7 separate regions of the Homo sapiens genome follow, and all the other regions are linked to region 2. Evidence: promoter capture Hi-C in human tissues and cell types (Jung and others, 2019). All regions are on one chromosome and are shown on one strand. The core of a region is centred on a gene start or on the middle of the fragment in contact, and the rest is flanking DNA. Distances in the headings are between cores, read along the strand shown. Region 1 overlaps CCDC32 (coiled-coil domain containing 32). Region 2 holds the start of KNSTRN (kinetochore localized astrin (SPAG5) binding protein). Region 3 holds the start of PAK6 (p21 (RAC1) activated kinase 6). Region 4 overlaps BUB1B (BUB1 mitotic checkpoint serine/threonine kinase B). Region 5 has its middle 4.2 kb from the start of BUB1B. Region 6 overlaps BUB1B (BUB1 mitotic checkpoint serine/threonine kinase B). Region 7 overlaps BUB1B (BUB1 mitotic checkpoint serine/threonine kinase B).

What was found. The method cuts DNA at HindIII sites, captures the fragments that hold promoters and counts their contacts. A contact is called where the count stands out against the background at its distance.
Region 1: a fragment that was not itself captured here is called in contact with the fragment with the promoter of KNSTRN in region 2 in 1 of the 25 tissues and cell types used here (IMR-90 fibroblasts).
Region 3: a fragment that was not itself captured here is called in contact with the fragment with the promoter of KNSTRN in region 2 in 1 of the 25 tissues and cell types used here (aorta).
Region 4: a fragment that was not itself captured here is called in contact with the fragment with the promoter of KNSTRN in region 2 in 3 of the 25 tissues and cell types used here (bladder, mesenchymal stem cells and ovary).
Region 5: a contact is called between a fragment that was not itself captured here and the fragment with the promoter of KNSTRN in region 2, in 2 of the 25 tissues and cell types used here (H1 embryonic stem cells and IMR-90 fibroblasts).
Region 6: a contact is called between a fragment that was not itself captured here and the fragment with the promoter of KNSTRN in region 2, in 2 of the 25 tissues and cell types used here (liver and mesenchymal stem cells).
Region 7: a fragment that was not itself captured here is called in contact with the fragment with the promoter of KNSTRN in region 2 in 3 of the 25 tissues and cell types used here (IMR-90 fibroblasts, bladder and mesenchymal stem cells).

What each region holds. Positions count from the first base shown.
Region 1 is chr15:40,550,347-40,553,196 of GRCh38, forward strand. It overlaps CCDC32 (coiled-coil domain containing 32), which reads right to left. Exons shown (of 4, transcript NM_001080792.4): 4 at 2,753-2,850. Among named protein-coding and RNA genes, the nearest start is that of CCDC32, 13 kb to the right of the region's middle. The HindIII fragment of the contact is 4,888 bases long and covers 1-2,850 here.
Region 2 is chr15:40,381,267-40,384,457 of GRCh38, forward strand. KNSTRN (kinetochore localized astrin (SPAG5) binding protein) reads left to right here and starts at 1,455. Exons shown (of 9, transcript NM_033286.4): 1 at 1,455-1,778; 2 at 1,962-2,056. The coding sequence starts at 1,570. RefSeq lists enhancers at 333-833, 1,459-1,528, 1,488-2,011, 1,777-1,946, 2,012-2,533. The HindIII fragment of the contact is 15,043 bases long and covers 1-3,191 here.
Region 3 is chr15:40,238,133-40,241,454 of GRCh38, forward strand. All of the region lies in intron 1 of BUB1B-PAK6 (BUB1B-PAK6 readthrough), which reads left to right. It overlaps PAK6 (p21 (RAC1) activated kinase 6), which reads left to right and starts at 931. Exons shown (of 11, transcript NM_001395430.1): 1 at 931-1,670; 2 at 2,467-2,549. It overlaps LOC107984763 (a long non-coding RNA gene), which reads right to left and starts at 1,569. Exons shown (of 3, transcript XR_001751506.2): 1 at 1,353-1,569. The HindIII fragment of the contact is 8,776 bases long and covers 1-3,322 here.
Region 4 is chr15:40,218,242-40,221,442 of GRCh38, forward strand. It overlaps BUB1B (BUB1 mitotic checkpoint serine/threonine kinase B), which reads left to right. Exons shown (of 23, transcript NM_001211.6): 22 at 215-321; 23 at 2,323-2,882. The coding sequence ends at 2,518. All of the region lies in intron 1 of BUB1B-PAK6 (BUB1B-PAK6 readthrough), which reads left to right. The region is part of intron 1 of LOC107984763 (a long non-coding RNA gene); the gene reads right to left. Among named protein-coding and RNA genes, the nearest start is that of BUB1B-PAK6, 2.4 kb to the left of the region's middle. The HindIII fragment of the contact is 3,322 bases long and covers 1-3,201 here.
Region 5 is chr15:40,155,310-40,158,422 of GRCh38, forward strand. No RefSeq gene overlaps it. Among named protein-coding and RNA genes, the nearest start is that of BUB1B, 4.2 kb to the right of the region's middle. RefSeq lists an enhancer at 2,160-3,020. The HindIII fragment of the contact is 5,307 bases long and covers 1-3,113 here.
Region 6 is chr15:40,182,639-40,185,742 of GRCh38, forward strand. It overlaps BUB1B (BUB1 mitotic checkpoint serine/threonine kinase B), which reads left to right. Exons shown (of 23, transcript NM_001211.6): 6 at 1,076-1,245; 7 at 2,527-2,741; 8 at 2,913-3,004. All of the region lies in intron 1 of LOC107984763 (a long non-coding RNA gene), which reads right to left. Among named protein-coding and RNA genes, the nearest start is that of BUB1B, 23 kb to the left of the region's middle. The HindIII fragment of the contact is 4,788 bases long and covers 1-3,104 here.
Region 7 is chr15:40,200,260-40,203,118 of GRCh38, forward strand. BUB1B (BUB1 mitotic checkpoint serine/threonine kinase B) reads left to right here. Exons shown (of 23, transcript NM_001211.6): 11 at 1-100; 12 at 672-721; 13 at 2,146-2,206; 14 at 2,330-2,435. The region is part of intron 1 of LOC107984763 (a long non-coding RNA gene); the gene reads right to left. Among named protein-coding and RNA genes, the nearest start is that of BUB1B-PAK6, 16 kb to the right of the region's middle. The HindIII fragment of the contact is 3,067 bases long and covers 1-2,859 here.

The DNA.
Region 1 (2,850 bases), core at 184-2,683, 170 kb after region 2:
GTTGAGGAAGCCCTAACTGGAGTTCCTTGGAGTTTTCAGGGTCAAAGGAAAGAGATCAGCATTTTAGGCCAATACTATTTTTTCCTATGGTTAGTCCCATTACTGAAAAGGAACTGGAACATGAAGAGGTCACTTGACTTATTTGTGACCATTCAGTAAGCCACAAGACAGATAAAAGACAGCACCCAAGACTCTCAGTTTCAAATTTAGTGCCACTTCACTAGCCTAAGATAAATCTGTATTAACAAGTTAGCTTTGGGAGCTAGTGTCAAATTTGGTTTTGGTAAATGGAGTTTCACCTTTTTTTAGAGCCATTGTTTACGCTGTCACCTCTAAATCAATTAAGAAACTATAGCTACAACTCACTGGGTTCCCTTCCGTGGAGTCGTGCAGAGCTCCTCTCACACCGCACCCAGGTTTACACATGGGCTAGAAACCATTCAACTTACAAACTCTGTTTCAGTTCCTCTAAAGCGATTCTCCACCCTCTCATATTCCAATTTCTGTTTCTGAGGTAGAAAATGGGAAGTAGGGAAAAGGCAAAGCTAGAATCTTGCCTGAATGACAGAAACACTATTTTCGGGTACAGAAACATTCTCTTACCATCCCATGATCTGCACTTTGGGAGAGTGTTTTGGGACCTCATTGCTTTTTTTTTCTTAAACTGTTGTTTCTGAGGAAGAATAATTGTTGTTTGTTTATCATGCAGGGAGAATAAAAATTTTAGTTTTTCTTTCTTTAAAAAATCCATCCTGGCAGGGCACGGTGGCTGACGCCTGTAATCCCACCACTTTGGGAGGCCGAGGCGGGCGGATCATGAGGTCAGGAGATCCAGACCATCCTGGCTAACACGGTGAAACCCCGTCTCTACTAAAAATACAAAAAATTAGCCGGGCGTGGTGGTGGGCGCCTGTAGTCCCAGCTACTCGGGAGGCTGAGGCAGGAGAATGGTGTGAACCCGGGAGGCAGAGCTTGCAGTGAGCCAAGATGGCGCCACTGCACTCCAGCCTGGGCAAGAGAGTGAGACTCCATCTCAAAACAAAAAAATCCATCCTGAAAGCCATCAGATGGCCCTGGAGAGGAGTGAGGCCTGGCATCTGAACTCCAGGTGGAGATGGCAGCCTGCAAGCCTGGATGACCGTCAATATTCTGGCTTCCTCAATGTACCCAGGGGCCACAGAGAGCCACTCTCTGTGTCACACGTATCCTGCCAATAAAATGCAGTAGGAATAAAGCGACTAAATCTACTAATAAAGGTGTTAACCCAGTCCAGACAACATGGCGAAATCCCATCTCTACAAAAAATATAAAAAATAAGCTGGGCATGGTGGTATGCACCTGTAGTCCCAGATACTCGGGAGCCTGAGGCAGGATCACCTGAGCCCAGGAGGTCAAGACTGCAGTGAGCTGAGACCGTGCCACTGCCCTCCAGCCCTCCTGGTGATAGAGTGAGACCCTGTCTCAAAAAAAAAAAAAAAAAAAAAAAAAAAAGGTTAACCATTAGTCAATGAAAAGAGAGGAAAGGGCCAGGCATGGTGACTTGCACCTGTAATCCCAGCACTTTGAGAGGCCAAGGTGGAAGGATAGCTTGAGCCCAGAGGTTCGAGACTAACCTGGGCAAAATAATGCGACCCTGTCTCTACAAAAATTTTTTTTAAAAATTAGCCAGGCATAGTGGCACATGCCTATAGTCCCAGCTACTCAGGGGAAGCTGAGGCAGAAGGATGGATTGAGCCTGGGAGGTTGAGGCTGTAGTGAGCCATGATTGTCACTACACTCCAGCTTGGGTGATAGAGTGAGGAGACCTTGTCTCAAAAAAACAAAAAAAAAATAAAGAAGGAAAAAAGAGGAGCGGCCAGGCGCGGTGGCTCATGCGTGTAATCCCAGCACTTTGGGAGGCTGAGGCGGGCAGATCACCTGAGGTCAGGAGTTCGAGACCAGCCTCAACATGGAGAAACCCCAAATCTACTAAAAAAAATACAAAATTAGCCGGGCGTGGTGGTGCATGCCTGTAATCCCAGCTACTCAGGAGGCTGAAGCAGGAGAATTGCTTGAACCCGGGAGGCAGAGGTTGCGGGGAGCCAAGATCGCGCCATTGCACTCGAGCCTGGGCAACAAGGGCAAAACTCCATCTCAAAAAAAAAAAAAAAAAAAAAGAGGAAAGTATATTTGAATATTACAATAAAAATATTTGTATCACTAAGCAAGTATATGGAACCACCTAATTGGTTCCTATCCTTTTGGGCAAGACAAATACTTGATTTAGAAATGAGCAAACAATAGCCGGGTGTAGTGGTTTGCACCTGTAATTCCAACTACTCAGGAGGCTGAGGTGGGAGGATCACCTGAGCTCAGGAGTTTGAGGTTACAGTGAACTATATGATTGTACCATTGCACTCCAGCCTGGGCAACAAAGTGCGACCTCAAAAAAAAAAAAAAAAAAAAAAAAAAAGCAAATGTTCTCAGAAGATTTATTTATTCTATTTTTTCTTTTAGCTCCTCTCTCGATCGGAAGATTTTTACAGCCACCCTACTGATCTTTAGGGATTTGTAAACTATTACCCAGGAAGAAGGCCCATGGAGCTAAGGCCTCAGAACACCAAAGTCTGGACTGTCTGAGGGCACATGCTAATAACAGGAGGCTGGCAAAGTGGCCAGCTCCCATGCCTTTGCATGCATTTGTCTTTACCTCCTGCTGCCTGGGAACATCCTTCCAGGAGCAATCGAGTCAACAGCACCACAGACACTGCTATTCCGTTGAGAAAAGTTTTATATGGAAACACATACTGATCATGAACACAATAAACAGGGAGGGAAGCTCGGGCTCAGCCAGGAAACCTGCCACAAGGA
Region 2 (3,191 bases), core at 205-2,704:
ATAAAGTATATATAAATTGAGCCAGGTACAGTGGCTCATGCCTGTAATTCCAACACTTTGGGAGGCTGAAGTGGGAGGATCATTTGAGGCCAGGGGTTTAAGACCAGCCTGGGCATCATAGCAGGACCCCATCTCTACAAAAATTAGCTGGGTCTGGTGGCAGGCACCTTTAGTCTTAGCTACTCAGGAGGCCGAGGTGGGAGGATCTCCTGAGCCCAGGAGTTCAAGGTTGCAGTGAACTATGATTGCACTCCAGCCTGGGCAACAGAGTGAGACCCTGTCTCAAAAAATAATAATAAAATAAAATAAAATATAAATTGGATGACACTCTCCTGCTATAATACTTCAGTGGCTTTCCATTACTTTTAGATAAAATCTAATCTCTATACCTTGGCCTGTAAAATCTGTCTTTTGACTGCTTATTTCTCCAGCTTTATCTGTACCACTCTCTTCCTATCTTTCTGTGCCTATAGAAGAACCCATTTCTGCCTTGGGACTTTGCATTTTCCCCTTTCCCCAATGAAATTAACTCCCTCTCCTTCCTTAATCAAACATCATCTCAGAGAGGTCTTCCCTGAGCCCCCAATATAATCTAAGTTTCCCTGCTTTTCTATCTTATACGATTTTGTACTTTTTCTTCATAGTGTGTGTGTTTTGGTTTGATTTTTGAGATCACGCTCTGTCACCCAGGGTGAAGTGCAGTGGCGCGATCTCCGCTCACTGCAACCTCTGCCCCGCCCAGGGTCACATAATTCCCCCACCTCAGCCTCCAGGGTAGCTGGGACTACAGGAGCATGCCACGACACCTGGCTAATTTCTGTATTTTTTGTAGAGACGGGGTTGCACCATGTCGCCCAGGGTGGTCTCAAACTCCTGGACTCAAGCAATTCACCCGCCTCCACCTCCCAAAGTGCTATAATTACAGCTGTGAGCCACTGTGCCCAGCCTTCTTCACAATTTCACCACAATCCGTAAATATATATTTATTTATGTGATTATTTGTTCACTGTCTGTTTTCTAAGTTGTAAACTCCAGGAGGGCAGAGCCAAGGTCAATCTTGATATTTGCCCTCCCTCACTCCCTTCCACCCACTGAGAACACTGTTGGGTAATCAGCAGGTACTCAATAAATGCCAGATGAAATGAATGAGCTAGTGCATTTAGTAATGGAAGCTACCCTGTTTATTGGGAGTAGCTTTGAATCACTACTGAAAATCTGGATAAGTGCTATTAAAATTAGGACCTCAGGTAGGTGCCTCAGGTATCTCAGCCCATAGGTCCTTTTCTTCAAGCCTCACCTGCCACTCTCCACCTGTAACGTGTAGTTTTCATCCAAATAACCTGTGCTCCTGGCAATATCCCTAACAATCCCAAACTAAATAAAGAGGATTGTGACATGGACCCTAAATGTCGCCACGTTTGCGTCTCCATCCCGGAATATGACGCTGGTAGCTCATTAGCTCCATTCAAGCCTACAAATTGCATCACCCTCCTCCTCTGCCCAGACCTGGGGGCTCCAACACCTTTCGCTAGGTCTGGCTCTGGCCTCTGAGCGAACCTTCCGTACAGTATGGCGGCTCCCGAAGCCCCGCCCCTGGACAGAGTTTTCCGTACAACATGGCTGTCTACAGAGTGCGATTCCCACCCACTTCCGCCTAGCTACCGGAAGTTTCTATTTGAAACCCAGGCGGCCGACTTAGCCGGTGGCACGACAGTTGCTGCAGGGAATCTTTTAAACGAGAGCGAGAAGGACTGCGGGCAGGACCGGCGGGCTCCTGGGTTCGGCTCTCCCGGGGCGAGGGACTGGGCTGGATGGGAGGAAGGACGGAATGAGCTGGGAAAGGAGGATTTTCTCTTTTCCAACCCCGAGCCGGGGCCTGTCGGGTCGCGCTATCCCCGGGCCCTCCACTCTCTCGGGCCCAGTGGCCCAGCGCTGGGTAACATTCATCCTGTACCTTCCAGGGTTCAGCCGTGCCGCCTCGTTACGATGACCAGTGTGGTTAAGACAGTGTATAGCCTGCAGCCCCCCTCTGCGCTGAGCGGCGGCCAGCCGGCAGGTGAGGGTCCAAGCCACGCCCGGGGCACTGCGGCCTGGCCGGGGATGGTCTCGGGAGTGTGGAGATCGAATGGGTGGCGCGGGCACGGGGAAGGGCGTCCCGTCGGCCCTGAAAACCTGTGAGCCCCCTATAACCAGGCTATGTAGGTTTATGATGGGAGTTAAGGGAAGGACCATGTGGTAGGATTTTAGACGTGCTCTGCACTTTTCTGCCCGCATGTGTACTGTATTCATCAGTTAGATTCAAGTTGTTGGTTATTGTACAATGTTATTCCCATTAAGCTAGGAATCCCCTTCTAATCGGTTATCGTCTTATTTCCAGACTTGGGCTATCTTGAGGGATTGGGTTTGTTTTCAGGGAGGAAAGAGGAGAATCATTTGAGAAGTGGGATACTTAGGGTTCTTTGTTCACCTTTATATCTGCACCGTGTTTCTCATTACCACATTCTCAATACACGTTTGTTGAGTGAAGTGGGAGAGAGGGGTTAGACCTAGGCACAGTATTTGAGAAACTTGGGCGAAGAGAGAGACATGATTAAAAATAGTTTTTAATTGCTTTGCCATCTGCTTTGTGTTGCTTTGCTTGTGGTTGAAAGTCATCTCATGGGGTCTGCAGTCGGGGAACTGCCTAATCTAGAGATTATAGTACAGAGTAAGCTTCAGACATCAGAAAACTGTTGTGGGAGATTATGGAGTAGCTATTTATGATCCCTTCCCAGATGATTCCACTCAGCTGGTACATAAACCTTGGCAAGATGGAGCGCTGAAGTGGCCAGGCACGGTGGCTCACGCCTGTAATCCCAGCACTTTGGGAGGGCGAGGTGGGCAGATCACGAGGTCAGGAGATGGAGACCATCCTGGCTAACACGGTGAAGCACCGTCTCTACTAAAAAATACAAAAACTTAGCCGGGCGTGGTGGCGGGCGCCTGTAGTCCCAGCTACTTGGGAGGCTGAGGCAGGAGAATGGCGTGAACCCGGGAGGCGGAGCTTGCAGTGAGCCGATATTGCGCCACTGCACTCCAGCCTGGGCGACAGAGCGAGACTCCGTCTCAAAAAAAAAAAGATTGAGCTCTGAAGTAAATAGGCTTTTCTCCAAAGGCTTAATGGGTTGTTTGTTGTCTTGTGTTGCCGCAGA
Region 3 (3,322 bases), core at 552-3,051, 140 kb before region 2:
GGACTTTTAACCAAACACCACATGGCTTCGCTACAGAAGAAAGTTAGAAAGTTTTCAAAAATAAAATGTAGAGCCAAGTGCCACCTTGGATATAAGGGACTGGGGGACGGGAAGAGGCAAGAACTCCCAGGCTTCCCTCTGGCTGTCAATAGCTAGTGGGTCCTGGCAGTGGGAGCTGGGCCATCAGAGGTGGCGCCTGAAGTGGGGCAGGCACAAAATGGGTTTTCGGGCAAGCATTTGCCCAGGTGATGGTCAAAGCCACAGAAAAAAGGTGTTTTGATGGAGTGGTGGCTGAGTGTGGGGAGAGATGAGCAGGGGACCAAGCCTGGAGCTTGGGCAGCCCACGATTGGACACTAGGAGAAGAAAAGAAGCCAGTGGAGGAGACACTGAGGCTAGGGATGGGGAGGGCACTGTGGAAGGCTGGGCTCCACCTGGCGCTCCGGGGAGCTGGCAGGGGGGCACATCAAGGAGCTCAAGCTGCCTCACCAGCAAATGCCTCTGTTTCTGACCAGGGGCAATGAAATAAAGGGACCCGGTTGAGTAACTGGTTTCTGGTCCCTGCCAGCCCAGGAAGCCAGCACCCACCCTGCCTTACATCCCATGTGCCACTCTCAGCCTTCGAAGCAAAACCAGCTGAGACCAGCACCTGCCAGATCTGAATGCGCAGCTCCAAGTTCTGGGGGGTGGGGGTGGGGGTGAGCCAAGGAGGTCTGGCTTCTCTAGGGCAAGGGTAGGAAGGACAGCAGGGAGGCTCACCCTGAGCCCGGCAGGCAGCCCTTCCTCCTCCTCCCCTTCAGCAAAGAAAGGCAGATAAAAACGTGTTTTTATAAATAGCTCCAGCCCCAGCTGATTTGTAAATTCAGTGGGTTTTTTGTGTCAATGACATCACCTTCCTCCCCATGGCAACCCCCGACGATATCAAAATTGCCAAGCAACGTTGGAGCAGCTCGGCGCCCCAAACGAGCAGGTCGATGCCTGAGGATTTAATGGAGAAATCCCAAAGTGAGCCGGGGCGCGCGGTGGAGGAGGGGCGCGCCGCAGCCGGGGCCGCTGGGCCCTGATGGGCGGGAGCGGGGTGGAGCGGCCTCGCCTGCCAGGCAGCCCTGGGCGCGGGGCTCGGCGGCCACACTCTGGAGACAGCCACGGTCCAGGCAGGTGGGGGAGGGCGCTGCTCCCGTCCTGATGTGCCAGGAGCCGCCAGCAGCCATCCAGGTGACTAAGCCGGCCCACTAGCACTGAGTCACCGCCCGCCTCGAGCTGTTCTTGCTTCTCCTTTGCATCTGATTATTTTGGGAGCTGGAAACTTGGAGCTGCACCTGAGTCCCGCCCCTTCTAGCTCTCCCCTCCCTACCTTGGGCTCCAGGAAGATGGGACTTGCTGTGAGTCTGCTGCCACCCCCTAAAGATATGGAAGACGCTGTGGGGGCCAGAAGTGCCCGGGGGGCTGTGGCAGCAGGCAGAGTGCAATAGCAGATATGGTGGTCAGGCTGCCTGTGTGTGTCCTCTGGAGGTGTTGGGACAGAAGGGCAGTCTTGTCCGAGCTGACTGGAGTCCTCCCGGGCTGGCTCTGAACTCATCTCCCACGGGGATGTTTCGGTAAAGGAGTGGCTTCTGGGGTCGGAGTGGCATTTGGAGAGCGAGGCTGGATTGGCTTAGGCTGGCCTGGGCAGGTAGGTGGCTCTGTGTTGGGTGTGGACCCACGTGTGTGTGAGTGCGAGAGTGTGTAAGCCAGTGTGTGTGCCGTCCCCCTGCTGGGGACAGCAGCTGGGTCCAGCAGAGAGCTGGCTGGGGGCTTGACAGGAGTTTATCCTAACTGATGCTGGGTGGGCGCAGGCCCTGAGATGGGCGTCAGGGAGAGGGGACGCCAGACACACGGCCTGAGCAGGGTGAGGAGCAGCTGCCAGCCCCGGCAGGCCCAGGCCCTGTCTGGGTGCACAGGACAGAGACACAGCAAGATGCCCAGGTAGGAAGCCGTCCGGAGGGGCTGGCCAGGGTGAGAGCCCATCACTGGGGGGCTGGACAGCCCATCAGCTGCCCCTTCATTCTGGCAGGCCTGGGTACCAAGGAAACAGCTTCCTACCAAGAACCATGTCACTCTCTTATGCAGGGCCAGTCAGCACCCATGTGCGTCTCTGCTGAGCTCACAGGGACACATTCAGTGAGAAGGGTGCTGGCCAGGGTACGGCTTCCCCATGATCAGGACCCAGCGGGTGCCACCCTCAAGCCCCTGGTCCCCACAGGGCATGCCCCAGTGTGTGTCAGGAGGAGGGGGGAGGTCCCTTCTCCCCCACACAGCTGGCAGCTTTGCGGGCACCAGTGAGTAAGCTGCCAGAGGGAGGGAGGCTGTGTGCCCACAGTGGCAGGACAATACCAACCAGGAGCCTTCAAGAGAAGAGGCTGGGTGAGAAAAGCACTGAGGTTTTCTTTTCCTTTTTTTTTTTTTTTTTTTTTCTATTTTGCCTGAAGGGAGTGCCGCTTCCTGGGCTAGAGACAAGCACCAGCCTGCAGTGGAGAACGCAGGACCCCGCTGCCCAGAAGGAGCAGCCACGGTAAGGTCCCCACTGCCGCTGCGTGCTCCGGATTCCTGGGCTAGGGACGGGGGTGCCAAGGTGTCCAGGCTGCCTCCCACCTGGGACAGGGAGGCTAACTCCACAGCTGTGGGTTCCTGGGTCAAGGGGCTCCACTCCCCACCCGGCCTGCCACCTTCTTTCCAGATTGATTGTGAAACAGTCCAATCCCAGCTGGTCTCTGGCTCCCTAGCTAGAGGGAGAGGTGCTTGTTTCTACTCTTCCTGCCCCAGCTGGGCCAAGCCAGTGCCACCGGGACACCCCTATCCAAGGCCCCTCTCACTTTACCACCTCTGGGACATTTCCCTTGTGTATTCATTCCACAAATATTTAGGGAGCACTGCTGGGTCCCAGGCTCCAAGTCACACCCTTTGGCTGGGTTTGACCTGGCACAGATTCTGACTCTGAAACTCAGCATCAGGGCAGGTTCAGGGAGCTGCCTGGCCAAGCACGGTCACTCCTCACAGGCCTTGGTCTCCCCACCCCTGCTGCAGGGTGGATGACCTGGTCAGCTTTGGGGACATCGGGCCCAGTGAGCTCGGGTTTATAAAGCACTGGGCCCCACCGGGAAGCAAGGCTAACGTCTTGTGGTCTCCAGTTATCCTTTCCCTGGCATTGTACACCAAGAGGTTTGTGCCGTTCTGCCTGGGGTCTTCCTGAGGCTGGTTCTGGTGGGAACTGGGCTGCAGGAGGAGAGGATGAGCTTAGGAGCCGTGTGGCCCCCAGGCCTGGTGGGCCTGGGACTCAGCCCCACG
Region 4 (3,201 bases), core at 351-2,850, 160 kb before region 2:
TTGTTCTTAAGGATAATTCCTAGAATTGGCTCTATTGATCACTTCTTTGGAGAGCTTCTCCCTTTACTGTAAGGGTGAGGAACAGTCTACTAAAATGTATGTCATAAAATAAACTTAGTTAAGCACTGTAATACCTTTCAACTTCCTACCGAAATAAGCTGCCATGGTAGAGGCAGAGAATTATTTTAGCTGATGGTGCTTTTTGTGATTTCAGGTAGACCTGTTTGGTATAGCAGATTTAGCACATTTACTATTGTTCAAGGAACACCTACAGGTCTTCTGGGATGGGTCCTTCTGGAAACTTAGCCAAAATATTTCTGAGTAAGTATTGATGAATGTCAGGGTCTCTGCCTGTCCCAATAATTTTCTGTTTCTCTTGGGTGCTATCTCTGCTTTGGCAGCCTTAGTTTTTTAATCCAAATGCCATGGTTCCAGTAGTTTCAGCCAGTTTTCATTAGAGTATCAGCAGAGCAGCTAGTGCAGGAAAAAGGAACTGCTTACTAAAAATAAGATTCAAAACTATTCAGACTTCAGGACATCATTCTGAATCTAGCTGTATCTTCCAGACTACAGCTATAGTATGGAAGCTTCCCTGTTTAGATATGTGAAAAGAAGCATTTCATGAGAATAATTTTCTAACTAATTGGTGTTAGCCTTAAATTCCTTTTTCTTTATTTATTTATTTTTTGAGACGGAGTCTCGCTCTGTTGCCCAGGCTGGAGTGCAGTGGCATGATCTCGGCTCACTGCAACCTCTGCCTCCCAGGTTCAAGTGATTCTCCTGCTTCAGCCTCCTGAGTAGCTGGGATTACAGGCGTGCGCCACCATGCCTGGCTCATTTTTGTATTTTTAGTAGAGATGCGGTTTCACTACGTTGGCCAGGCTGATCTCGAACTCCTGACCTTGTGATCCGCCCGCCTCGGCCTCCCAAAGTGCTAGGATTACAGGTGTGAGCCACCGTGTCTGGCCTAAATTCCTTTTTAATAGCAATTATTACCAAAAGTTAATAAGCATCCTTTGAAAAGACTTACATTTCTAAACTATATGCTAATTTTAGGCTATTTTTTATTTAATAAGTGGATAGAACCAAACCAGATAACTGACTCTCCTGGAGAAGAAGTAAGTGGTCTCTTAATAAGCACTGCTTGGTCTCAGAACCTTAGTACTCCCTCAAGCCTGCTCATAAAACTTACTAAGTCAGCCGGGCATGGTGGCTCACACCTGTAATCACAGCACTTTGGGAGGCCGAGGCAGATTACCTGAGGTCAGGAGTTTGAGAGCAGCCTGGGCAACATGGCGAAACCTTGTCTCTACTCAAAATACAAGAAAATTAGCTGGGTGTGGTGGCACATGCCTGTAATCCTAGCTACTTGGGAAGCTGAGGCACGGGAATCACTTGAACCTGGGAGGCAGAGGTTGCAGTGAGCTGAGATCGCGCCACTGCACTCCACCCAGGGCAACAGAGTGAGACTCCGTCTCAAAAAAAACTAAGTATCTACGTTCCACTTTAGCTTATCTTAGCAAATAAGTTCCCAGCCTGTCACCTATTGTTATATTCTTTGGTTAAAAAAAAAAATGAGTGTTGAAGATTTAATGCCCCTTCTCTATTTTCATCTTTGAATAATTGAATTGTACTTTTCTCTTCATTTAATTCAGAACTTGGCCAGTGTTGTCTCTTACATGAACTTTTAAAAATAGGCTTGAAATACAATGTAAGACATATAGGATGGATATAGGCATGTCCACTTGGCTATGGTCCAGGCAGGTCTGGCTAACACAAGCAGAAACAAGTGGGGTCAGTTGGGGTTTCCTAACAGCCCTGCCTTATCTAATAAGGGAAGTTTCTCTGATCAAAAGAAAATAATAAGAAGCAAAGGTACAAACATATTAAGCAGTAGTTAGTTTAGTCAAGCTTACGATTATCAGAGAATTGTAAAGAAGATCCACTACTGGGGTAGGAGAAAGGAGCTGTAGCCTTTTTAATGACCTAGACTCTAGGAAAGTTAGAGGAAATAAAATTCCTTTTTCTTCTATTTGTAGAAGAAAAGTGCTATGTCTTAGTACACAGAGGAAATTTATAGATTTAGATGAGAGATCTTCTTTCCCTTTATGTGCATTGTATCTTGGCTTTTCCCACTATGGTAGCCCTTTTTTGTAGTTCTTCCCTGGGCTTTCAAAGGACTATTTGAATGATCTCTAACCCTAGAGTTCTAGGTATTACCTTACACCATTTTGGTGCATAAATGTACCACTGAGTTAAACTAAAAGGAATTATAATTTTCATATGCCTAATCTTGATGGAAATGGTTTTATATATTTTTAGGCTAAAAGATGGTGAATTGTGGAATAAATTCTTTGTGCGGATTCTGAATGCCAATGATGAGGCCACAGTGTCTGTTCTTGGGGAGCTTGCAGCAGAAATGAATGGGGTTTTTGACACTACATTCCAAAGTCACCTGAACAAAGCCTTATGGAAGGTAGGGAAGTTAACTAGTCCTGGGGCTTTGCTCTTTCAGTGAGCTAGGCAATCAAGTCTCACAGATTGCTGCCTCAGAGCAATGGTTGTATTGTGGAACACTGAAACTGTATGTGCTGTAATTTAATTTAGGACACATTTAGATGCACTACCATTGCTGTTCTACTTTTTGGTACAGGTATATTTTGACGTCACTGATATTTTTTATACAGTGATATACTTACTCATGGCCTTGTCTAACTTTTGTGAAGAACTATTTTATTCTAAACAGACTCATTACAAATGGTTACCTTGTTATTTAACCCATTTGTCTCTACTTTTCCCTGTACTTTTCCCATTTGTAATTTGTAAAATGTTCTCTTATGATCACCATGTATTTTGTAAATAATAAAATAGTATCTGTTAAATTTGTGCTTCTAACATGTCATGTAGTTTTTGCAAACTAAAATAACAGATGGCTTAACTTTGCAGAGATGAACTATTTTGCCATGGAAATTTATATATCCTAGACTTCGAATTGTTACAATAGGGTTGTGATGAGACAGAGTAGCCAACTATTTCTTTAGGTGGGTCTGACCTTCCAATAAGTGGTCTAGACTGAAAAGTAGGTAAGATGATATGCATAAGACCAAATATCCTTCAATTTCAAGTGGCATGATTGTATACATGGCTTATGTTTTAATGTTTTCACTTTTTTGGAGACAGGGTGTCCTCTGTTGCCCAGGC
Region 5 (3,113 bases), core at 500-2,999, 230 kb before region 2:
AGTCAGACCAGCTGGGCCGGTTCCCCCTGAGTCCTGGCAGCCTTAACGGGCTCATTAGAATAAAGCCAATGATTGAAAACAGTTTGGCATCCCAGAGCCTGTCTGGGGAGAGGAAGGAAATGCATACAGGTGGGTGAGGTGCCCATTCTGTGCCCCACCCCCTTCTCACCTGCAGGCCCTTCCCAGAAGTGGGAGGAATAGGTGGTTCCACAGCTGGGAAACTTGAGAGCTCAGTGGGATAAGCCCCTGCTTTGACAATGCAGCTGGATGCCCGCCCTGGGCTCAAAACTGAAGGGGCTGGGTTTGCTCCCCACCTGCTGCTTGTCAGGCACAGTGAGTCAGGGTCTCATTTCAGGTCCTCACAACTCTCCTAGGCTCCTGCCATTGCAACCACCTGCACTTCCCCAGATGCCGAATGCACTCTCACTCTCCTGCCTCCTAGTCCTTCCTGTGCTATTCTCTCCACCTGGAAAGCCCCTTCTCTCTTTTTAGTAACTCCTACTCATTTTTAAAGACCCCTCTTGGCAGCAATCCCAACCTCCCTTTCTCTTGTTCTCTCAGCCCCCATGCTTGGGTGTGGGAGGGCCCCCATCCTCTTTCAAGTTCCCCTAACTCCAGGCTCCTGCTGGGGCTATAGCTCATAAGCTGTTATATCATAGATTGTTTTGTTTTTCTTGAGCATAAGACTGGTGCTTTTTTCATATTTATATCTCTGGTGCCTGGCACAGCACCCGACACAAAATATTCAAGAAATGTTTGTCAAATGAATGGTGGACATCCTAGAGTGCTTGGTCCAACAAGGTCATGTGCTAGCTATTCTCTTTTGTTCATTACTGTCAATCAGTCAGTTAACCAGTATTGATTGAGTACCTGCCTCGGGCCAGGTCCTAGGGATGAAGAGTTAGAACCCATATTCTCATAGCTTTTCTACACCAGTGAAGAAAACAAGGCTAACTGGAGCCTTTGACTGCTAGAAAGAGGTCAACTGGTCCAATATCTTTGTTTACCACTGAGGAGGAAGGCGCAGCCTGTGGGTAGACGGATGGGCCTCTCTCATGCTCGTCTGTGTAGTGGGGTCTTCCTCATGTCAGCTGCCATAGGTAACTCATATTCATTGTTGGGAGTCTGTTCCAGGCACACATCCCACAGCTGGCAGTAGTCAGCCTCTCAAATGCCACATCTTCCTCATTGACAACAAAGGGAACCAGAGCTAGCAAGAAAAAAAAAAGCCTTTTCTCTTGGAATGCCCACTGCCTTCTATAGCTGTGTTAGGCCATTTTTGCATTGCTCTCAAGAAATACCTGAGGCTGGGTAATTTATAAAGAAAAGAGGTTTAATTAGCTAGAGATTCTGCAGGCTGCACAGGAAGCATGGCGCCAGCATCTGCTTGGCTTCTGGTGACGGAGGCCACAAGGAGCTTTTACTTCTGGTGGAAGATGAAGAAGGAGCAAGAGAGAGAAAGGGGCGTACCACATACTTTTAACGACCAGATCTCAGGTGAACTCAGAATGAGAACTCACCATTCACCAAGGGGATGGTACTAAGACATTCATAAGGGATCTGCCCCAGGATCCAAACACCTTCCTTCAGGCCCCATCTCCAACAATGGAGAAGCCTCTTTCTATGCGAGATTTGGAGAGGACAAACATCCAAACCATGTCAATAGCTCCTTACAAAGGGTTTGGACGGAAAACTAGAAATAGGCTCAGATAGATCCAGAGAGGTTTGCAGCCCTCCATGCCATCTTTGGCTGTTAGGAGATGATGTTTCTAACTCTGCTTGTCTGGATTCTGTTCTCCCTGCTTTAGCTTGGGAGCCCGTGTTGGAAGAAAGGCACTGAAATGCCTCAGAGCAACAAGTGTCAAAGACCTACATGGAGAGCGGAAGCTTGTGGTTGTCTTGGCTCAAGAGGCTGGGGTTGGCCAGGCACGATGGCTCATGCCTGTAATCCCTGCACTTTGGGAGGTCGAGGCAGGCAGATCACCTGAGGTCAGGAGTTCAAGACCAGTCTGGCCAACATGGTGAAACCCAGTCTCTACTAAAAATACAAAAATTAGCCAGGCGCCTATAGTCCCAGCTACATGGGAGGATGAGGCAGGAAGATCGCTTGAACCTGGGAGGTGGAGGTTGCAGTGAGCAGAGATTGTGCCACTGCACTTCAGCCTGGGTGAGAGAGTGAGACTGCATCTCAAAAAAGAGGCTGGGGTTCTCATCTTTGGTATGTTCAATCATCCCAGAGGTGAGCCTGAAATTCTAAAACATAAAGAGTTCCTCCAAAGTTGCTCTGGGCGGGTCCCAAATTCAAGTTTCCCACTGGCCCTCAGTCTCCTAAGGTTGTTTTAAAGGGAGAATGTTGGCCAATTCTGACTGGGACCCACACCTCCAGGTAAAACTTTAAAAGGACAGCCTTTAGAGAAGAAGGCAGAGATGGGAAAGAGGTAAAACAGCTGTCACCTCTCTTAATTCTAACAATCTTCTCGCACCTAGCTGTAGCCAACTTAGTTCCCACATTCAGCGAAGTTAAGTTGTTTCCAATCATTTGGCCCCTCCCAGCCTGGGGGCCTCTGACCTCTGGCCTTTCTTTGGAAAAGCAATGCAGAGTCCAGATCTGCAGGAGTAGCTCCCAGCTGGGCCCCCGAGAAGGGAAGAAGCAAACTTTCCACAGTTTGCACCAAGACCCAGGAGGCAATGTCAGAGAGGAAGTGAGGAAGCCTGCCTGGCAGAAAAGCAATGGCGGCTCAGACATATCCACCCACAGACACTCCATTCTCCTGCAAGTGTCCCCACAATGGATTGGCTCTGCCAGGAGCCATCCCTACCCCCATTCAGCTATCTTAGAATTGTCACCTCCTGAAATAAGGACAGAACATTATGTAACCCATTTCCTCAGGCCTCAGACCTATGGAGTCACATGCACTAGTCAGGAGAATCCCATTGGCTCTTCCATAGGGCCCCAGGGCCGCTGCACACAGGGCTTTGTGTGAATTAGAGAGAGGAGGCCTCTCTGGGCACTTTTGAAGGTGCCTTCTCTGAGTAGAAAAAGCAGAAAAATGTCCCCATTTGCGTGACAGGCACTCTCGGATGCAGCAATATTTATGCAACTGTATGTGTGG
Region 6 (3,104 bases), core at 520-3,019, 200 kb before region 2:
ATAGCTCAAGAGGGAACCTAAGATGTATGCCAATTCACATACAGAATTAGGAGATCCTCTTGTTCAGCTCATTCCTTTGCAGTTCTCCTCCCATATTCTTTGGCCTTCAGAGTCCTCTTTTCCCAGTCCTCAGGCCAGAAAGATGGGGTTTCTCTGAGTTTTACATTCACATACCACCACTGCAACAGTTCAAAACCACAAGAGAAAATAGAAGAATAAAAAAACAGGAAACAATCCTGCGTGGGTTGTTTCTTCAAGTTTTGACCCCTCTCCACAGTCTGCTTGCTTTTGTTGACTTTTCAGAGCCCTCAGTTAGTTGCTTTTTTTGTATATGGTCTATAGTTTTTAATTCCTATCAGTGAGAGAAAGAGAAAAGGTACAGTGGGCATACTCCATCTTGGCCAACACCTGCAATTTATTCTGGGTTTTTTGGGGTTTTTTTTACCCTTATGATAATACTTTTTAAGGCTAGTTAAATGAAGCAGTGGTAGGAATGGAGAATCTCTTCTGATAATACTTAAAACTGTGGCAGCAGCATAGGAAGTTTACTTTTCAAACTTCTGCCAGCTTTGCTAAAGTACAATGTCATGTCATATGCAACTTCATTTCATATAGGTCAGGAGAAACCGTATATGTGTGTGCGTGCACGTGCGCGCATGCATGTGTATAGAAAAAGAGACACAGTGATAAAATAGATGTGGCACAGTGTTAACAATTGGTGGGTCAAGTTTTCTAATAAAAAGTTAGTGGGAAAACTCTAATCTTAATAAACTCTGTGATCTTAGTCTTAATAACCCTAACCTGATCCTCAGATCAACTTAATGGTGATTTTCAGAATAATTTAAATTGGTCAAACTTGGGCATTTAAAGGGAGAGTTAAATAATTCTAGCCAAAACTTTTCATGATCTTAAGGTGACTCTCTTTACTTCTGAGAGAATAAACATGTTCTTTGGGATATTTCTGCATTCTTCCCCCAGCCTGCTCTTCTAATTTGTTTACTTTAACAAATTGGAAATTTTGAGTCTGGTAAAATAGTGGTCACCTCACTAAAAGTTGTGCATTCTGCTACTTTAGACAATTCCAAGCTCGAGTGTCTCGGCAAACTCTGTTGGCACTTGAGAAAGAAGAAGAGGAGGAAGTTTTTGAGTCTTCTGTACCACAACGAAGCACACTAGCTGAACTAAAGAGCAAAGGGAAAAAGACAGCAAGAGCTCCAATCATCCGTGTAGGAGGTGCTCTCAAGGGTAAGTTTGTTAAACGTTATTTCGGAAAACTGTTAGTTTCTAGTGGTAAAATCATGTAAGAAGATAATACATAAATATACCTGTGGACACTTCTAGTTTGCTGAATACTGAGTAGCAAAAAGAAGGAAGTCAAAGGAGAGCTAATATTACAGTGTGCAGTAAAATCAAAATGCATCAGTAATTTTGTGTCTTAATTAAGAAAGACCTAACATTTAGGAAGCATCAAGATTTTCTGAGTTTGAATTGTTAGTTGAAAGAAGATATGTAGTAACATAGCAGGTGTTGTTAAAGTGAAGCTTACATATACCAAAGCCTCAGAGAATGATACTAATATGGTTAAGAACCCTGCCTTCAGAGCCCTTTGGGACCAGAAATTAGACTCTCTATATACCCAAAGATCAGCAATAATTTTTTTTAATTAACATGGACTTTTTTTTTTTTTGAGAGATAGGTTCTCGCTCTGTTGCCTGAAACGTGGTAGTGCAATCATAGCTCACCGCAGCTTCAAACTCCTAGGCTCAAGCAGTTCTTTTGCCTCAGCCTCCCAAGTAGCTAGGATTATAGGTGTGAGCCACTGCATCTGGACAACACTGACTATTTTTTAGAGTAGTTTTAGGTTCATAGCAAAATTGAGCAGAAGGTACAGAGAATAATAAGCTTTTATTTACTAAATTTATAGCAGTTAGACATGTAAACCAGGCTGTTTTTTTAATCTCTTATTTCTTTCCTGGTATCAATTTATCAATAATCAGAATGTTACTTGGTGGTTCTAGAATTAGGATATAGGGAGTGTATGGTCCCAAAGGCTATTTCATCCAGATCATGATGAAGCTTGGTTAATAACCAGCCCCACAACAGAGAAAACCCCTAATAAATGGGTTAATTTTGTATTCTCTAGTTCCAGTATATCTCTGCTGATTTCCATTGAGAGAAAATTTAAAACTGAAGAATAAAACTTAGGTTAGTTTCTGATAAAACTAGATAATGTTATAATGATGACTGAAGGAAGATGCAGAATGTCTTTTTTGGAAATTTGTGAATAAAAGATGTGGGGTGACTGGAGGAGGGAAAAGAAGGCAGAATATAAGTAACAAAGAATGGATAAAACGATTCTATTTTTGATTTATTAATTTTTTTAAAGATTATTTTTAAAATTTCTTTTTTTTTTTCTGTTGTAGTGGAAATACTGTCCTTGAGTTGAGGAAGAATAGGTATACTTTATCTGGCATCTAAGTTAATAATGAAACATTTTACATGAGGTTTTAATATTTTTGCTCCTAGCTCCAAGCCAGAACAGAGGACTCCAAAATCCATTTCCTCAACAGATGCAAAATAATAGTAGAATTACTGTTTTTGATGAAAATGCTGATGAGGCTTCTACAGCAGAGTTGTCTAAGCCTACAGTCCAGCCATGGATAGCACCCCCCATGCCCAGGGCCAAAGAGAATGAGCTGCAAGCAGGCCCTTGGAACACAGGCAGGTCCTTGGAACACAGGGTAAGGACTCTTAGATCCAGTGCTTTGCTGACACAACAAAGACTTCACATTTAGGGTAGAGAAGTATTTTTACCATCTCTTTTAATTCCTCTTGAATATTTAGCCATGGTCTATATATGCTGTCTGAGAACATAAAACTATGGTAATTTTAGTTTTCTTCTTCATCTCCAGCCTCGTGGCAATACAGCTTCACTGATAGCTGTACCCGCTGTGCTTCCCAGTTTCACTCCATATGTGGAAGAGACTGCACGACAGCCAGTTATGTGAGTGTGGTTTTTGGATATTTTGAAGTGGGAATTATTAAGGGTGGGCAGAGGCACCTATTCTACTTCCCAAAGGCAGTTTCTTCTTTATGAAGATGAA
Region 7 (2,859 bases), core at 267-2,766, 180 kb before region 2:
CTACAAAGGAGACAACTAAACTGCAAATTGCTTCCGAGTCTCAGAAAATACCAGGAATGACTCTATCCAGTTCTGTTTGTCAAGTAAACTGTTGTGCCAGGTAAGACTACATAGGTGGAAGGGACAATGCATATAGGAGGGCATTTAGAACCAACCTTTGACTCTCTAGTGCCTTGAAGTCTCCTTGACGTTTACAGTATCGAGACATGGTTTTTGTAAGTCTCTGTCACAACATAAGCTTTGATGCTGATGAGGGAGGACAGAGCATTGACTATTTTCCACTGAAGAAACATGTTTCTTATAGAAACAAATACATATACTGTTTTTAAAAAACAAAATCACCCATTTCTACCACTAAGAGATGATTACCATTAACACTGTTCTGTCTCTTCTTTTGTGTTGTATTTTTGTTTTGTTTTATAAAAATGGCAGCTTACCATTTTGTAATCTGCTTATACTATTAATGCAACTTGACATCTATTATCAAATATATTTCTGCAACATTTTTGATAACCAAAGCTTCCATCTTCTTTAAGAGAATTTGAATTGACAGTAATAATTTATCTTAGAGTAAATATTATATTTAATGGAAAAGCCTCTTGGACTTTTAAAAATTAAACAGTTCTTTCTGTGGGTATTGAGCACATGATTTAAAACAAGTTTCTTTACAGAGAAACTTCACTTGCGGAGAACATTTGGCAGGAACAACCTCATTCTAAAGGTGAGTTGTATTTGACAGCCTTGAGAAGAACTTGCTGATAACAAATGTATTATGTAATAAATGGTAAATATTTTTAATTATGATAAAGGGATTGAAAGACAGGGGGACTAGGATACTAGGAATTTAGTATAAGCATATGCTTTATGATAGGAAAGACATTTGAAAGAGTATTTTTTTAAAGATTCCTCAGTGCTTCAAAATATTTGGTTTAATTGTAATTTTAAATTTACACTAACCACCAAATCTTATACTTTAGTTACTGTACACTAAACAGCAAAGACACTAAGGGAAGTGTTTCTTTTCAGGGAAAAAAAAATTTAAAGCTATTTTATACTCAAATTGGTTTTCTTTTCTTCAAAATGTGTTAAAAGTGGTGAAACATGAATATCTACTTGTAAATGGTTTGGCAAAAATAAAAATAAAAAACATTAAAATCTAATTAAACCTCTGTTTCTAACCGTCAATTTATTGGAAATATAAAGCATGGAGGAACGTTGTTAAACAACACAGCGGGATGGAATTGGCAAAATCCAGCATTATGGGGCTAGCAACCCAGTTTGTTCAACAAAAATTCCCCCCAAAACTCTATAGAATAAAAGAGATTTAAGAGGCATTTGAACAGTCACAGTATACGGATCTTAACTCTGCATTCCCAATTCAAACAAACTTTAAAAAAATTTTTTTTTATTTATTAATATTTTTTTGAGACTGAGTCTCGCTCTGTCGCCCAGGCTGGAGTGCGGTGGCGCGATCTCAGCTCACTACAAGCTCTGCCTCCTGGGTTCATGCCATTCTCTTGCCTCAGCCTCCCGACTAGCTGGGACTACAGGCGCCCACCACCACGCCCGGCTAATTTTTTTTTGTATTTTTAGTAGAGACGGGGTTTCATCATGTTAGCCAGGATGGTCTCGATCTCCTGACCTCGTGATCCGCCCACCATGGCCTCCCAAAGTGCTGGGATTACAGGTGTGAGCCACCACACCCGGCCAAAACATTTTTTTAATTGGTAAAATATGAAACTTCTCACTGGACATTTGATATTATATATATATTCATAAATTGTTCATTTTATAGGTAGGTATCATGTTTTGGGATTGGGATTTTTAAAAAGCCTCTTTTAGAAATATATACTGAAATATTTGCAGATAAAATGACATGTCTGGAATTTGCTTTAAAATAATCCTGTTGGGTTGGGTTTGGGGAGTAGTGACAGTGGTAGAGAATCTAAATGGAACAAGATCATCTAAGTTTAGGTAATTGGTAAATTGTTTAATGACCTTTTATATGTTTGAAGCTTTTTGTTATTAAAAAAACAGGTTGCCTTCCTGCTTTCAAACAACACAAAATATTGATTAATTTATCTGGTTGTCTTGAAGAGTAAAGCATTTACTCCTAGAGTATGTATCTAGTCTCTCTTTCTCTAGGTCCCAGTGTACCTTTCTCCATTTTTGATGAGTTTCTTCTTTCAGAAAAGAAGAATAAAAGGTACGTTGTTTTTTTGTTTTTTTGGTTTTTTTTTACTTAAGAATTTTCTGTTATTATAAGTGAGGATAAATTAGGGGTTACTGTTATGAAAAAAATTGCTAAGTGAGGTATGTCTTTTTCCAGTCCTCCTGCAGATCCCCCACGAGTTTTAGCTCAACGAAGACCCCTTGCAGTTCTCAAAACCTCAGAAAGCATCACCTCAAATGAAGATGTGTCTCCAGATGTTTGTGTAAGGAGCAGTATCCTTAAGTTAATGTAAATGGGCTAGTGGATTGTTTATTCAAAACCACAAAAGCTTAAGGTTAAAATTGAAACCACTGACTTGAATTAAGCACATGAAAAGATGCTCAGCATTACTACTCAACAGGGAAATGCAAATCAAAACCACAGTGAGATACTACTTTATATCCTCTAGGATAGCTATAATAAAAAATTACGCACAGTAACAAGTGTTGGCAAAATTGTGGAGAAATTAGAACATACATTACTGGTGGGAATGTAAAATGGTGTAGCCACTTTGGAAAACAGTTTGGCAGCTCTTTAAAATGTTAAACACAGTTACCATATGATCCTGCAGATCTCTGCCCAGGTATATACTCAAAATAATTGAAAACACATGTTCATACAAAAAATTTGTACACAAATGTTCATAG